3 separate regions of the Homo sapiens genome follow, and regions 1 and 3 are each linked to region 2. Evidence: promoter capture Hi-C in human tissues and cell types (Jung and others, 2019). All regions are on one chromosome and are shown on one strand. Each heading gives the region's core, a stretch centred on a gene start or on the middle of the fragment in contact. The rest is flanking DNA. Distances are from core to core; before and after follow the strand shown. Region 1 overlaps LRP5 (LDL receptor related protein 5). Region 2 holds the start of UNC93B1 (unc-93B1 regulator of TLR signaling). Region 3 holds the start of C11orf24 (chromosome 11 open reading frame 24).

The links. Contacts are between HindIII fragments. The study calls those that stand out against the background at their distance.
Region 1: a contact is called between a fragment that was not itself captured here and the fragment with the promoter of UNC93B1 in region 2, in 1 of the 25 tissues and cell types used here (lymphoblastoid cells).
Region 3: a contact is called between the fragment with the promoter of C11orf24 here and the fragment with the promoter of UNC93B1 in region 2, in 1 of the 25 tissues and cell types used here (small bowel).

What each region holds. Positions count from the first base shown.
Region 1 is chr11:68,363,066-68,366,258 of GRCh38, reverse strand. LRP5 (LDL receptor related protein 5) reads right to left here. Exons shown (of 23, transcript NM_002335.4): 4 at 2,316-2,512; 5 at 557-688. Among named protein-coding and RNA genes, the nearest start is that of LRP5, 52 kb to the right of the region's middle. The HindIII fragment of the contact is 5,680 bases long and covers 1-3,193 here.
Region 2 is chr11:68,002,544-68,005,768 of GRCh38, reverse strand. It overlaps UNC93B1 (unc-93B1 regulator of TLR signaling), which reads left to right and starts at 1,672. Exons shown (of 11, transcript NM_030930.4): 1 at 1,672-1,821; 2 at 1,971-2,112; 3 at 2,594-2,747. The coding sequence starts at 1,726. RefSeq lists enhancers at 629-1,171, 1,172-1,715, 2,620-2,669, 2,770-2,819, 2,920-3,119 and silencers at 1,550-1,849, 1,910-2,319. The HindIII fragment of the contact is 30,745 bases long and covers 1-3,225 here.
Region 3 is chr11:68,270,597-68,273,805 of GRCh38, reverse strand. C11orf24 (chromosome 11 open reading frame 24) reads left to right here and starts at 1,833. Exons shown (of 4, transcript NM_022338.4): 1 at 1,833-1,949. It overlaps LOC105369363 (a long non-coding RNA gene), which reads right to left and starts at 1,704. Exons shown (of 3, transcript XR_950248.3): 1 at 1,630-1,704. RefSeq lists an enhancer at 870-1,724 and a silencer at 1,636-2,035. The HindIII fragment of the contact is 13,528 bases long and covers 1-3,209 here.

The DNA of each region.
Region 1 (3,193 bases), core at 432-2,931, 360 kb before region 2:
CTGGGCCCCATCACGCTACAGAAACGGGGAGGACTGGTCCCAGGGATGGCGCTTTCCTGACACCTCTCGTTACCCCCTCGCTTGCCAGGCCCCAGGGTCAGCCCCAGAGGCCAGACTGGCTATCCCAGGCCCGGGAGCATCCCCGAAGGCGAGCTGCATCCTGAACGTGTGTGATTTCCCGAAGGGCCCGCCCCGAACCGACACCTGGAAAGAAAGATCCTCAGCCGGTGCCCCAGAGGAGAAGAGCCATGCCTCACTGCAACACAGTCCCAGGAAGCACCAAGTGCCTGAGGACCAAGGCGGAGAGTAAAAAAGTGGAAAATATCTGGGGCAAAAATAAAACAAAACAAAACAGGATTGACCTCCTGGGCTCAAGCAATCCTCCCAACTCAGCTTCCCGAGTAGCTGGGACCACAGACTTGAATCACCACACCCGCCAAGTGGATCATTTCGAACGGGTTTGCCGAGGTTCCTTCTGGGGCACCCCCGGCGGCCGCAACCCATTCCCGCCAGGCCCCGCCCCGCCCGCCCGCCCCGTCCCGTCCCACCGCCTCACCTGCCTTACACGTCCTGCCGTTGTCCTGCAGCTGCACACCCGTGGGGCAGGCGCATGTGTAGAAAGGCTCGCTTGGGGACAGCAGGCACAGGTGGGAGCAGCCGCCATTGTCCTCCTCACAGCGAGTGTGGACTGAGAAAACCAGGACAGAGTGAGAGAAGGTTCCAGAAGAGGACCGTCACTTGTTTCTGAATGAGTCACATCCTGCCTCGTCCCCCGTGACAGCCTCCAGTGTGTCCCTCTGCCCAAACATCGGCCTCAAGTGGCATCAGGGACCTCCCCGCTGGCACCATTCCACCTGCCTCATCGCTGGCCCGTCCACATGGGGCCCTCAGCCTGGCCAGACGGCCTGCAATTTCCCCAAAACCAGCCGTGACCTTCCTGGCCACCCTCACACCCAGATGTGACCTGCCCATGGAGTGACATCTCCCCATCTGCTTCCTCCCACCAAGCTCCTATGACTAGAACACCCTCCCCAGCTCCTCGGAGCCCCCAAAGGACACCCCTCTGCAAAGGCTGCCCCCCACGCTCCAATGGCCGGGGTCAGGACCTGCCTGTGTGGTAGTGACGGGAACCCCAGAGACAATGGGCTCCTGGGCAAAAGGCTTGTCTTGTCTTTGTGCTATGTGTGGACCCAGCAGCTTCCATAGGAACACTGTCCCTCTTGCTGGGATGGCCAAGCTTGTCACTCTCCCAAGCCCTTCTATGACCAACAGCAATTGAACGGAACTCGATAAATGCTTCCAGCACCTCATTCAAACCAGGGGAAAGCTGGGTGTAGCAGCCCCAAAATACGGATATAACTGGAACAACAAACTCATCAAAATGAACCTCTCCCTCCCTCATGCTGCCCCAAGTGTAGATGGGTTTTGTGACCACGACTTTCTCACCAGGAAACAGCTCCAGAGAGCCCCACCCTCCTGTGTCCTGCTCTGGGAACAGCTGGCACCCCTAGGCCCCACATTTCAATTCAAAGTCCAAACCTTCCATAATGGCCTGGCCAGAAATCTCCATCCCTGGTCCCTGTGGGAGTGGGCCACTGTCCCCAGAGCCGCAGCCCCACTGTCACAGAAGCTGGTGCATTTCCCCATCAGGGACCTCTGTCACAACCCAGCGTGGCCCCCAGGCTGAGAACTGCTGATTCTGGGCAGATTATTCATTGATAAATACGCGACTTGCAGGGCCAAGCATGGTGGCTCATACCTGTGACCCCAGCACTTTGGGAAGTCAAGGTGTGAGGATCACTGGAGCCCAGGAGTTTGAGACAAGCCTGGGCAACGTGGCAAAATCTCTCATCTCTATTAAAAATACATACACACACACACACACACACACACACACACATATATATGTATATATAAATAACCATATATATATATACACACATACGTGTATGTGTATATAAATACATATACACACACACACAGACAACTTCTTCTGGGCCTTGAAAACGAGGCAACCTTCCTTGGAAATCCCCTTGCCACTGCTGAGCCTGAAATAGCCCCCATGAGCTCTGCAGAGGGGTCCTCTGCAGGCCCGTGTCCCCCAGCCAGCCACACACCTCCCTCCATTGCAGCAGGTACCCCTTTAGAGAGGGGGCCCCCCAGAGCATGGGCTTCTGCAGGGAGGGGTCACCTGCCCCCCCACCCCACCCACGCCCGCGCACCCCCACGCCCCCGCATCCTCCCACTCCCCTGCCCCGCGCCCCCGCTCCCCCCAGCCCCCGCACCCTCGCCCCCGCGCCCCAGCCGGCACTCACAGAAAGGCTGCCGCTCCTGGCTCAGCACCTGGATGTCCATGGGTGAGTAGAGGGCACTCAGGATCTCCTTCCTCTTCCCCCCAGTGCGCTTGTTGCAGGCATGGATGGAGCGGGTCTGCCAGTCTGTCCAGTACAGAGTGTCCCCGGAGAGCGTCAGGGCGAAGGGGTGCGTCAGGCTGCCCTCCACCACCTTCTGCCTGCAGTCAGGGAAGCGGGGTGGAGGAGCCATCAGGAGGGTCCCCCGACAGTCATTGCTGCTGACCCAATTAATTTCTTTTTTTTTTTTTGAGATGGAGTCTCGGTCTGTCGCCCAGGCTGGAGTGCAGTGATGTAATCTCAGCTCACTGCAACCTCCGCCTCCCGGGTTCAAGCAATTATCCTGCCTCAGCCTCCCGAGTAGCTGGGATCACTGATGCCCACCACTACGCCCAGATGATTTTTGTATTTTTAGTAGAGACAGGGTTTCATCATGTTGGCAAGGCTGGTCTCGAACTCCTGACCTCAGGTGATCCACCCACCTCAGCCTCTCAAAGCGCTGGGATTACAGGCGTGCGCCACCATGCCAGGCTTCCCATTTGCTTTCAACCAGACAAGTGAGGCCAGGTCAAGAGCCCCAGGAGCTGGCGCCCTCGTACATTTCTCCCGGCGTGCACAGGGCACCTCCCAAACACAGCCTGTGATGGTGACACACGGGCTCCCCCAGGTCAAGTGGCAAAGTCTCCCCCAGGGAAGAAAGGAGGAAGCCATGCCTGGCAAAAAGCACACCTCTCCTGCCCAACGCTTTAACCTCTGTATACAAATCAGGCCATGTGCACTCGCTCCTTCTTACAATGCTCATAATTTATACTTTCAGAGTAAATGAAACTTGGCATCAACCC
Region 2 (3,225 bases), core at 423-2,922:
TTTGAGTAGGAGACATTGAGTGCAGGGAATTGGTGGTACAGCACAGGTGATGGAAGAGCCCAGGATGGGCAACCATAGCAACCGCCACAACCCCCAGGCCCAGAGGAACAAGGGGAGGAAGAGATTGCACCAGGCCCCAGAAGTTTGGGGTCCCTCAGGGAAATTGAGAAGCTCGGGGGGCCCACTCCCAGCACTTTGGGGGCTAAGGCGGGTACATCACTTGAGGTCAGGAGTTCGAGACCAGCCTGGGCCAATATGGTGAAACCCCATCTCTACTAAAAATACAAAAATCAGCTGGGTGTAGGGGCACACGCCTGTAATTCCAGCTACTCACAAGGCTGAGTCAGGAGAATTGCACTTTCTCATCATACTGTGTAATGATGCTGGTGTCTGCCATCTGAGAACGGCCCCCGCCATAGCCATACTCTCCCACCTCCTCCCTGCCCCTGCGCCTCGGGCCCTGCCCTCTCTTCGGCTCCTTTCCTGTCTCCCACTTCCAGCCACCCACCTGCATGAATCCACCTGTCTGTTCCCCACATCTGCACTTGGGCATCGTCACCTGGAGAAAGTTCTACCTCCTGGAAGCCTGAAGCCACTGCAGATTCACGCCTCCCCCCACCTTCCCAGCAATCCTTGCGGGGTGGGAGGTGTTTGTCATCCAGTCACTCATGCACCCATCCAGTCACAAGTATTGATCACTCAGTAGGTGCCCAATGCCATCCTCTGCATTTGGGAGAGGATGTACCTAAAGAGCAGTGGGTGGAGGGGGGTGCACAGGGAGGGCATGGAAAACCAGAAGGGAAGTGAAGGGACTGCATTCTCTGCAGGGATGGTCTCTTGTTCTGAGAGCTGAGTGGGAAGGAAGCCACCTGGGAGGCGCAGCAGGAAGAGCATTCAAACCAGAAGGAACCCAGGGGAGAGAATCTGGATATTTTCAAAAGTGGCCCCGTGGCTCCAGCCAGGTCGGTGGTAGCCAGTGCTTTGGAGTGTCGGCCCCACCACAGGCTCCCGCTGCAGCCCGGGATCCAGTGCCCAGCAGGATGGGGGCAGGTGGCTCTGGGCCCCACTACATGGTTGTGGCAGGGTCCCCCATGTAGTTCAGTGGGGATCACAATCTCCACCTCCCAGGACCCACTCAAGCTCCCATTTGCACAGCCCAAACTGGAGCAGGATGGGGACATGGGAGGTGGGCTCTGGCTGTAGCGTCCGGTGGTGGGAGGTGGGGTCCAGGTGGTGACGCTACTGTCCCTGCAGTGCTCTTTGATGAGCTGTAACAGCAGGCTTGGAGGTGGGGCTGGGGACGACCCAGGCAACCCTGAGGGGAGCTTAAGGGAGCCAGGCAACCCTGGCACTTTTCCAAGGCTTTGCATTAACTCAATAGTTCCGCCATGGCCCCGGGGGTAGTGCCATGTATTTCTGTTTTACCGTCGAGGAAACGGAGGAAACCGAGGCACAAAGAAATGGAGTTAATTCCTAAAGTCACAGGGCCAGGAGGTGGCTGAGTGGGGATTCGAACTCACACCCCAGAGGGCACACACAGGCAGGCCCCTGCACACACGCGCGCGCGCGCGCGCACACACACATACACACACACGTGTCCTGGAGGAGGCGGCCCGCAGGGCGGGACAGGGCGGGGCGGGGGCAGGTCCCGGCCGCCGGGAGGAAGTGGCCGGGCGGTCGCAGGGACTCCGGGGCGACCGCCGCGAGTCCGCAGTAGTTCGGGCCATGGAGGCGGAGCCGCCGCTCTACCCGATGGCGGGGGCTGCGGGGCCGCAGGGCGACGAGGACCTGCTCGGGGTCCCGGACGGGCCCGAGGCCCCGGTGAGCGGGGACCCGGAGTGCGAGGCGCGGGCGTCCCCTGTGGGCCAGGGTCCCCCCGGCGGGGGCGGGGCGGGCCGGGGGGCGGCGGGCACCGGGGGACACGGGTTCGGGGCGCGATCGCGGGTGCGAGCGGCGTGCGTGGCTCGCAGCTGGACGAGCTGGTGGGCGCGTACCCCAACTACAACGAGGAGGAGGAGGAGCGCCGCTACTACCGCCGCAAGCGCCTGGGCGTGCTCAAGAACGTGCTGGCTGCCAGCGCCGGGGGCATGCTCACCTACGGCGTCTACCTGGGTAGGTGCCGCTCGGGGACCCGGGGCCGCCCCGCCCGCTCCCAGCCCGGCCCGGGAAACAGAAACCGCGGGCCGCCGCCTCCCGCCCGCTCTCACTTCCCCTCCGCTGCCCTCGCAGCTGCAGCCACGGCCCCCCGCGGCGGGGGTGGGGTTGGGGGGTCAAGTAGCGCAGCGTCCCCGGGTCCCAGCCAGAGCCTCGGTGTGGGTGGGGGACGGGGGTCCGGGCTCCCGGACAGACCTGCCACCGTCAGAATTGGAGGCCGGCGGAGCAAGGCGGGTGGGGGTCTGGGCTTAGCTGGCCAAGTGGCCGCGGGCTGGCAGAAGGCGTGGCGCAGCCCGGGAACCCCGCTGTCCTGAGGGGCGCTGTCAGCGGGAATGCCTTCGGTGATTGGAGCTCCCTGCGAGGCCTGCATGCCGTCTTCTGCTCGGTGGCGCCCAAAGCTAGGCTGCTCCCTGCACGCCGCTCTCTGTCCTGTCCCCAGGCCTCCTGCAGATGCAGCTGATCCTGCACTACGACGAGACCTACCGCGAGGTGAAGTATGGCAACATGGGGCTGCCCGACATCGACAGCAAAATGCTGATGGGCATCAACGTGACTCCCATCGCCGCCCTGCTCTACACACCTGTGCTCATCAGGTGGGCGCGGCTGCTCCTGTGGGATGCTGCGGTACTCCCATTTCGGAGGGGTACAGAGGCCGGCGGGCCAGGAGGTGTCCATCTGCCGGGGTGTTTGTGGGGCGAGGGAACAAGGGAGAGGTTTTTTTCTACCCGGAAGCCTGAGAGTGAAGGGGGTGAAACTCGGATTTGGGGAAGGAAACAGGAACTTTGCCTCAGGGCACATTTGGTTTCCAGCAACAGATTCACACGGGCTGAGCTCCCTCCCAGCTTGCCTGGGCCTCACGTGGCACCCTCCTCGTGGCCTCCTTGGAGGCCTCCCAGAGCCACTGTGGCCTTCAGGGTTGGGGCTGTAGAGTTAGGGGTTTCTGATCGGTCAGCAAAGTCCAGGCACCCATGCCTGGCCCAGTCGCTGTGACTGGTGCTGAGGGGGTGTTTCTCACAGACAGGCATGGCTGGGCAGGTGCCCCAGAGCTCTCCCCCAGATCTGAGCCCTGGA
Region 3 (3,209 bases), core at 584-3,083, 270 kb before region 2:
AAACAGAGTCACAGTCATTGATTTTTTTTTTTTTTTTTTTTTTTTTTTTTAGAAGGAGTCTCGCTCTGTCGCCCAGGCTGGAGTGCAGTGGTGAGATCTCGGCTCACTGAAGCCTCCCCCTCCCAAGTTCAAGCAATTTTCCTGTCTCAGACTCCCGAGTAGCTGGGAATACAGGCACACGCCACCACGCCTGGCTAATTTTTATATTTTTAGTAGAGACGGGTTTCACCATATCGGTCAGGCTGGTCTCAAACTCCTGACCTCAGGTGATCCGCCCGCCTTGGCCTCCCAAAATGTTGGGATTACAGGCGTGAGCCACCGCGCCCAGCCCAGTCATTGATTTTTGAAAAGGGCAGGCAAAGAACTAAAATCTGCCTGCCGATTGTATATTTTCACTTCTGGAGTGAGCCTCAATACTGTACTTCATGTTAGATCCGAACTAGTTGGAAAAATTAAAGCAAATACATAGTGAAAGGATCTGATCTTCACATGATCCAACCGGCGTTGGGTCTCAGCAAACCCAACTTTGCAGGTTAAATTCCACACATGAACTGTGGTTGAACTGGGGATGGTGGTGGTGACATCAAATCGCATTTCAGGTGCTCCCAGAGCTCGGAGTGGATGGTAGATCCTGTCTTTGCCCAATCTCAGCTTTCTGTGTCTCTTAGCTTCCTAGCCGAAGACCCCAAGGCAGGTTATAAAACTGGAAATAAAGTCTTGGTTTGCTCCTGTGAAATCATCCTTCGCAGACAGGTTTTGGTTTGGACCGGGGGATGCCTGAGGGTCTTATACAGACTGGGATTCAGTCACAGAACTACTAACTTGCAAAGCCTATTTCTTTCTTTCTTTTTTTTTTTTGGAGACAGAGTCTCGCTCTGTCGCCCAGGCTGGAGTGCAGTGGCACGATCTCTGCTCACTTCAACCTCCACCTCCCAGGTTCAAGCAATTCTCCTGCCTCAGCCTCCCGAGTAGCTGGGACTACAGGCGCACGCCACCACGCCCGGCTAATTTTTTGTATTTTAGTAGACACAGGGTTTCACCATGTTGCCCAGGCTGGTCTCGAACTCCTGAGCTCAGATAATCCGCCCGTCTCGGCCTCCCAAAGTGCTAGGATTACAGGCAAGAGCCACCGCGCCTGGCCTGCAAAGCCTATTTCTAACCAAAGTCAAGTCCCACACACTTGCCTCTAAATTGCGTTTTGCTCCTTTGTTATCCCAGGTTTTACAATTACAGAGCACTTGATGAGCCTGTTTCCACGTCTGTAAAATGAGGCGAAGTTCTTCACTGTGCTATTGCAGAATTAAGCCACTGGCTCTATAGGCAAAGTGCTTAGCACGGGCGTGGCACGCTGCGGGTGCACAGAAACGCTCGCTGCCACCCCACCCTTAACTACCGGGCACCCCAGCGCCCCGCCAGGGGCTGAAGAAACGTGGGAGGAAGCGGAGGAACGCGAAGGGCGTGTGCCCGCGAAAGGTCTCACGAGGCGTTTCGAGGTCGCCTCTTCAGGCTCGGCTGCCGACAAGGTGCCTCTGAGCTCACCCAGCCCAACCCGCGCACCCCGGGACCCCAAGACGGCAGCGGGCACAGCTGGGCAGCAGAGACCCGGGAACACCCACTTCCGCCACAGACCTGCTCAAAATAGCTCCTTCTGGCAGCGCGCAAGAAGTGGCCCGAGCCGGCCCCGGGGAGGCGGGGCCTGAGAGCAGACAACCCCCCCACTTCCGGCTCGCCTCCGTTCGCCACAGGCCCCGCCGCAGCCGCTCTTCGCCCCGGCCAGCAGGCCCGCCCCGCCCTCCGTGACGTCATTTCCGGCGTTTGGGCGGGGCCCGGGCAGGGCGCGCTGCCCGGAGCTGCCTGGGTTGCGCTGCCGGCCACGTCCCCGCGCCGGGCCTCAGGCTCCTTCCTACTGTCCGAGGGCCACCAGGCCGCCGGGGGCCTGCTGCGCCCGGGTAAGGGGCTCGCACTGCCGTCCGGGTAGCTGCTGTCAGGGCTCCCTGACTGGCTTGGGACTGAGAGACAGAGGTTGGGGGGCAGGAGGAGGGTTGGATGGGGGCACGAGGGGCAGTGGGAGAGTGAGTGGGGCTGAGAGAGGCAGGAGGAACGGGACAGGAGGAGCGGCGGATGGGGCACGCACAGAGTGCAAGACGCTGAGCAATGCAGGTACTGAAGAAGTCAACTGGGGGCCGAGCATGGCTGGGGGCCCAAGAGACAGGAGGAGGGAGGAGGGCCGAAGGGGGCCCAGACTGGAGAAGAGGCCGGCTTGTCCCATTGTGGGAGCAGAATGGGGACACTCTGGAAGGGGGCCGAATTTGTCCTGGGGTCTTTCCCGGGCAAGCCCAGGACGGGACTGGACCCCAAGAAGTGTCGCTCTTACTTGAGTGACACAGACCTATCCCCCAGACCCTCTCTCTACCTGGGTGGAGGTTGTGCATTGCCCCAGATTCCCTCCCCTGCCCATCTGTCTCCCTGCCTGCTTCCCCCGTGCGAGTCACTTAGTAGCCCCCGTGTGGCTGCTTAGCATGTTGACTTAATCGTTAGGCTGATAGGAGGAATCGGCCTCCACACGCATGGTTTGCCACCAGAAATAATCATCGTGCTTAGAAATCTGACTGTAATAACTTGCAGCTATCCCTCGCCCCAGGAAAATCTCTAACATTTCGATAAAATCAGCTAGGAAAATCTTTAAAATACAGATGTTTCCATTTATACAGTGGATCTGCCTAATGGACAAAGGAATGTCAGAGCTACCCACGTTCTTAGCAAAAACTAGGCCCTAGTATTTAGCTGTGTTACCAAAACTTCCAGAAACCTGGAAGCAAGCAAGGTAGTTAATGTAATATAATAAATGTCCAATGTTCTAGGTTCCCGTCTGCCACAGAGTCACATCCTTTGGACTACAGGACAATGTCTATATACACAAAGCCATAAGTCTGTGTTCCTTGGGCTTCTGCTACCAAAGTTCAGCCAGGTGACGTGTCAGGATTAGGTACCTGCAGTTTGCCCTGTATTTGTGTTTGCAGTTCCTACTCCTTGGTATCTGTAGCTTGCCTAACTTGGTGTGGGGGCCTGGCCATGTTGCGGCTGAGTGAGTCTTAATAGCCTGATAGAATGTGGGGGTAACAGCTGTAGTCCTTTACCAAGCTTCAGGATTGGTCTTTGGAACCTCTCTATGCCAGAAAAAAAGAATTAAGTTATTTCTTTCCCTTTTT